Regions from separate parts of the Homo sapiens genome. Here region 1 is linked to region 2. The links are contacts of gene promoters, found by promoter capture Hi-C in blood cells and fetal thymus (Javierre and others, 2016). All regions are on one chromosome and are shown on one strand. The core of a region is centred on a gene start or on the middle of the fragment in contact, and the rest is flanking DNA. Distances in the headings are between cores, read along the strand shown. Region 1 overlaps LINC01291 (long intergenic non-protein coding RNA 1291). Region 2 holds the start of GCFC2 (GC-rich sequence DNA-binding factor 2).

Evidence for each region. The method cuts DNA at HindIII sites, captures the fragments that hold promoters and counts their contacts. A CHiCAGO score of 5 or more calls a contact.
Region 1: a fragment that was not itself captured here is called in contact with the fragment with the promoter of GCFC2 in region 2 in 1 of 17 cell types (naive CD8 T cells); the score reaches 5.3 in naive CD8 T cells.

The regions. Positions count from the first base shown.
Region 1 is chr2:74,941,824-74,944,985 of GRCh38, reverse strand. LINC01291 (long intergenic non-protein coding RNA 1291) reads right to left here. Exons shown (of 5, transcript NR_189601.1): 5 at 1,492-3,162. All of the region lies in intron 1 of LOC105374809 (a long non-coding RNA gene), which reads left to right. Among named protein-coding and RNA genes, the nearest start is that of POLE4, 15 kb to the left of the region's middle. The HindIII fragment of the contact is 384 bases long and covers 1,447-1,830 here.
Region 2 is chr2:75,709,563-75,712,740 of GRCh38, reverse strand. It overlaps GCFC2 (GC-rich sequence DNA-binding factor 2), which reads left to right and starts at 1,826. Exons shown (of 17, transcript NM_003203.5): 1 at 1,826-2,150. The coding sequence starts at 1,886. It overlaps LOC105374813 (a long non-coding RNA gene), which reads right to left and starts at 1,802. Exons shown (of 3, transcript XR_940260.2): 1 at 1,707-1,802. RefSeq lists an enhancer at 445-1,016 and a silencer at 1,995-2,294. The HindIII fragment of the contact is 8,873 bases long and covers 144-3,178 here.

The DNA.
Region 1 (3,162 bases), core at 389-2,888, 770 kb after region 2:
ACAATTCCTGGCCTTATATAGCTTAAAATATAGGATATATGATAGACATTAACCAAATAAATGCATAAATATGTCATTATAAACTATTATAGGTAACAAAAGAAAACTATGGGTTATCGTAAGAACGTAGAGTAGGAAAACCTCAGATCTCAATTTGTATTCTTATTTTGGAAGGTATTACTCAAAGCCTCTCCATTTTCCAGTTCACCTTTGTTCCACCCATCACTCGCTGATAGAGTCAGGGAGAATGTATTGAACGGGTCCTAAGCCTGTAGTACTGCTGCTGCTCATTGAACAGATAATGCACTTGCACTATCACCCTGTTACTGCATCCGGAGGAGTCCATTCCACAGCATCCGTGGCATGTTTCTGTATATCAGAGAACTCCCACCCTGTAGCTGACCAGTACACGGAGGAACTACAAGCAGCTAAAAGCATCAGTTGATCACCCTCTGGCATTCCAAGACTTACACTGATCACCGCTAAGCACTGGGGAGAGCAGATGCTGTTTTTCTATGTAAATGTAGTATCCATTCATAAAATTGGAAAGTGGCTATCTGAGGCCCCATGAAGTCACAAATGCCATTAATCCCTGGCATTCTCACTCTAATGACATCTATCTATCTGGATTCACTTTGCCTTTCACCCTTCCTAGATTAACCCTGACCAAGACCTGGCTGTCCATGCCATACATGTGTTTACAGCAATCAAGAAAGAACTGAAATAAACAGTGAGAGAGGTAGTAGAAAGAGTGCTGGCCTCCCGCTAGCACGATGGTCACTCCAACATTTGGTTGCAATGGAAAGTAACAGTCCTGAAAAGCAGTCATGGAATCTTGTTTTCTACCTCAAGAAAATCCTAGAGTACATCTGAACTTACACCTGAGACAACCAGGAAAGCCCCCAGAACAAACACTTTTAGGGAAAGAAGTCTGGTGCATGGGTGATGCCATTCATCCAGACAGCCCATCCACCAGCCACACACAATTGTAGGCAAATTTATTGAGAACTTCACCATGAATACACAAGCTCACACACACACACACACACACAGGTTTGTTCCAGTCACACACACATTTCACCTCAGTTCTATGAACCTAAATTTCCAGTTTTCTGCGCCTACCCCAATATCTACTTTTACTCTATTAAGTTTTGTCAACACTTACAAGTCTCTCCTGGTTTTCTTAGAACTCAGATATCCTAATATTAGATTTTCAAAATAAAACAAAATTCACCAAGATTGTGACTAAGTAGTAGTTATCCACATTCAGAGGATGAACTGGTCCACAAATATCTAACTCATCCCCGATTTCTTTCCTTGTCTTTCATTAATTGCTTCCATTACCCCAACCCCAGCCTGAAGAGGTGTTATGGCCCAGTTAGCCTGAGACTGAAAGAGTAGACATAAAAGCCTCCCATTAATTCTCTGTCATAGATTTTTTAAGCTTGAATAATGTTTAAAAGATAAAAAAAAACTCCCATAAAATCCTACTGTTGCTCTACATTATTTTTATTGTGTTACTTCAAAATGAACAGATATAAATTTCCCATACATATAGCTCTTAAATTACTTCAAAACTCAAGCAAAGCTGCAAATTAAAAACAAGCAAACATACAAAAGCCACTAGAGTTCATATAGAAAACATCAGTGTGATAAATGATATTTTGCTGGAACTAAATTGCTGGCGTTGGGTTTAATACACCTACTATTTGTATGTTTTATGCTTCACTTTCTGTCCTCTTGATTCTTTTGACTTTGAACAATACTGGAAGCATATCTTAAGTCTTTCTTCAAGTTATCGTAGGATTAATCGTTTTTGGTAAATAAGCTTGTTTAACTACTAATCCATTAGTTTGAGGGGCTGATAAATTTAATAGTGCACCACAATAAGTACATAATAATAAAAATACTGAAGATTAACATTAAAAATACTATTGAATAAAAATAACAGTATTCTTTCCTGCTATTGAATGACAGTTCAAGTTGGTATGTCTCACAATAACTTCTCAACATGATATGCCACTGCTATGACAGAAGACATTTTGAACTAATGATGTCTGTACTACCTTTGGGCCACAAAATTGATCAATTTTCCCACATCTTTCTCTATTCAAACTTAATGCAAAATCGACATTTCCATAGCATGCCGTGATGTTATTTGTTCTTCATTTGGCACCAAACTCAGCCTTCAGCACTAAAAATAATGTAGTAGAACATTTTGATTTTATTTCTTTAAGATTATCTTCAAAACGAAAGCAGAAAATTTGAAAATTCTCATGAAACACTCACTCTCTCAAGAACATCTACAGACCTACTTTGAGAAACAGAGCTTTAATAGCACAACTGAGTTACAGAGGAAATATTTAAATAGTGTTTTACTAATGCCTTAGGAGATATTCAGCGGTGAGAGAACTCTATCCGTCCATCGTTATCTTGAAGCCCCCAGCGGGGCTGTCTTTCAGCCTCACCTCAAGTCAGACCTCTTAAGCAGGTCAAGACCCACAACAGACAGCACTCCCTCTGCTGCTAGCCTGAGGACTGTTTTCCATCCCTTTCCCATGAAGGGACTCATTACATACGGTCTCTGTGCTGGCTTCCTCCTGTGGTTCACTCTTGTCTCATTACCTGGGGTAAGAACCCTCTTGCCAGCTTTAATTATGAACAAGTTTATAGTCTTACTAGACCATTAGCTCAAGGATCACAAATATGATTGCCTCCACTAATCGACAGATACAATGGTTCCAGTCCACTAGACCTTCCTCCCATAGCCCTGGGGATACCCTTGTTTTCTACCCACCTCAGACCCCTCCCTTCACCCCCGTGCCCCACCACCTGCCCAGGCCAACCAAAACAAAGATGCTGCAGGAAGTACTGGTAGTTCAGATATCTCCTTGGTCGATGTAGACATTATTTTCCTAGGCCTGAGGATCTACTCAATAACAAAGTCAAGGGGTTTTTGTGGAAGAAAATTCAACTTTGAGAAAAATGAGTGAATTAGTTGGGTTGCTGAAAAGTCCTCTTCAGGGAAAAGGTTTCCTCTTTATTTGGTCAAGGGCCCTCTTCACAATCTTCCCATTTGTGGCTCCACTTTGCTGTCCCCTTATATAGTTGTGGTCAAAGCCAGATAAAACATTATGTAGAAATAAATGAAGTTAGTAAAAG
Region 2 (3,178 bases), core at 577-3,076:
TCCTTCTGGTGGGTTTGTGGTCTCGCTGGGCTCAGGAATGAAGCTGCAGATCTTCACGGTGAGTGTTACAGCTCATAAAAGCCACGTGGACCCAAAGAGTCAGCAGTAGCAAGATTTATTGCAAAGAGCGAAAGAACAAAGCTTCCACACTGTGGAAGGGGACCGGAGCGGGTTGCCACTGCTGGCTGGGGCAGCCTGCTTTTATTCTCTTATCTGGCCCCACCCACATCCTGCTGATTGGTAGAGCCCAGCGGCCTGTTTTGACAGGGCCGTGATTGGTGCGTTTACAATCCCTGAGCTAGATACAAAAGTTCTCCACATCCCCATCAGATTAGTTAGATACAGAGTTTCCACACACAGGTTCTCCAAGGCCTCACCAGAGCAGCTAGATAGAATGTCTATTGGTGCACTCACAAACCTTGAGCTAAACACAGGGTGCTGATTGGTGGGTTTACAAACCTTGAGCTAGATACAGAGTGCCGATTGGTGTTTTTACAATCCCTGAGCTAGACATAAAGGTTCTCCAAGGCCCCACCAGAGCAGCTAGATACAGAGTGTCGATTGGTGCACTCATAAACCTTGAGCTAAACACAGGGTGCTGATTGGTGTGTTTACAAACCTTGAGCCAGATACAGAGTGCTGATTGGTGTATTTACAATCCCTGAGCTAGACATAAAGACTCTCTATGTCCCCACCAGACTCAGGAGCCCAACTGGCTTCACCTAGTGGATCCCGCACCGGGGCTGCAGGTGGAGCTGCCTGCCAGTCCGGCGCCGTGCGCTCGTACTCCTCAGCCCTTGGGTGGTCGATGGGACTGGGCGCCGTGGAGCAGGGGGTGGTGCTCGTCGGGGATGCTCGGGCAGCACAGGAGCCCATGGAGTGGATGGGAGGCTCAGGCATGGCGGGCTGCAGGTCCCGAGCCCTGCACCGCGGGAAGGCAGCTAAGGCCCGGCGAGAAATCGAGCACAGCGCCGGTGGGCCGGCACTGCTAGGGGACCCAGTACACCCTCTGTAGCCGCTGGCCCGGGTGCCAAGTCCCTCACTGCCCGGGGCTGGCAGGGCCGGCCGGCTGCTCCGAGTGCAGGCCCGCCAAGCCCATGCCCACCCGGAACTCCAGCTGGCCCGCTGTCACCTCTCAATATGACGCCACTAAACATGGAGTTGATAACAGGTGTGCAGTAGCTCAACATTATATAGTATTTCTACCATACAGATACAGTAGTAGACAGAGCTTGATGAATATAGAACAAATTTGCGTCAGACAATAGCTTTTTGTTTTTAGATAGTTTCTTTAAGGGTGAAAACATTTAACCAGGCTCTCTTGAAGCCCTGCTGCCTGGGGGAAGTCATTTGATTTTTGCTAGTCTGTATGCATTGTTTATGTACAGACTTTATGGTTTTGTTCTCAAAGGCATCTCCTCCTACCCCGAGCCTCACACTGCTGGGGTTTCGTTTGTTTTAAATCTTGGTTGGAGGGGGCACTCTCTCCAGAAAGTAAAAGACAACGGATCTGGCTCCAGTCCAGGACGGAAAGCATAACGCTTGATTTCTGGATGGGGTTTGCACAAGGACAGCACGTGAGTTCTGCTCTCCGTGGGACTCAGACCGGATAGGCCGTGAAAATCTCTAAGGTGTCAGTCCACGCAACCTAACCTGGCAAAGGGAATGCTTTGCAAACTCAGGCCCCAGAACAGAACTCGGCCTACCAGATCCAGGGAGCCAAAGCACGCAGGCGCAGACAGAGTAGCGGTGAGCAGAAGGCAGGCGGGACGGGCGCGCGCACTCGGCGGCCAGGCGCGGCGGGAGCGCGCCCTAGGGGGCGGGCACTGAAGCTGCGGCTTGCGGTTCAGCGGGTTCTAGGGCGCCGGGCGCTCGGGCCTCGGCCATGGCTCACAGGCCGAAAAGGACTTTTCGGCAGCGCGCGGCTGATTCCAGCGACAGCGATGGCGCCGAGGAGTCGCCTGCTGAGCCTGGGGCGCCGAGGGAACTTCCGGTCCCGGGTTCTGCGGAGGAAGAGCCGCCCTCTGGAGGAGGCCGCGCGCAGGTGGCGGGACTGCCCCACCGGGTTCGGGGCCCTCGTGGCCGGGGCCGGGTCTGGGCGAGCTCCCGGCGTGCCACCAAAGCGGCTCCCCGCGCGGACGAAGGCTCAGGTGTCCAGGGAGACGCGGGGAAGCGGGGAGGTGACGGCACAGGGCGGGAAGGGGCCGCGGGGTCTCTGGATCCTTCTCTGGGGGTTCTATAACTTGCTGCCGACCACAAGCCATGCTGAGTCTTATCCAGAAAGACTTATCCAGAAGGTAGTGAGCGAGAAAATAGCTCGAGCACTTGCCCGCTATCTGCATCTGCCTTTTGGACTCCTTGGGGGAAATAAAACAATCGTGTACAGTTGGGAGGCTCTTCGTTTTCACCATCAGTTGACTCCATCAGTTATAACTAACACAGTTATCAAAGTTTATGAAGAACCTAAACTGTCACAACAAAGTTCAATAATTTATAATACTATTAAGTGGGCAGAAGTTATATGTACCTTTTAGACACTTGACCAACTTATCTTTCTTGAAAACATTTAGCCAGAGTAGTACAGGAATCTAGGTTTTGGGACATTCCCCTTTGTTTATTTTCTTTTTTCACCAGTTATTTGCAAAAACTAATAGTAATATATACAACACAAAGAAGCATGATAGAGATTCATGACACTGTAGATGGTACCAGTAATGGTGTTAGATATAGTGTCGTCATTTTGAAGTACCTTTGAGTTCTTAAATACAGGTGTAAGGCAGCATAAAGTTGTTTAAATAAAATGTGCTGCTCTGAGTTGGAATTGTAGCTTAATGAGGAATACGGTTTTTGGTTAGTCTTGAGAGCTAAAATCTTCCTATTATTTTTTATTGTCATTAAAGTGATTTTTATTAATTTATTGAGAAGTAAAAAATGTATATACTTATAGTGTACAACATGATGTTTGAAATGTGTCTACAGTGACTAAATGGAGCTAATTAACATTTGCTTTACCTTAGGTACTTACTTTTTTTTGTGGTGAGAACACTTACTATCTACTCTTACTAATTTTCAAGTATGCAATGCATTGTTATTAATTTTAGTCACCGTGTTGTAGAATAGAATTCCTCTTGTCTAATTAAAATGTGTGCCCTTTGACCAGTATCTTCCCAACTACCCT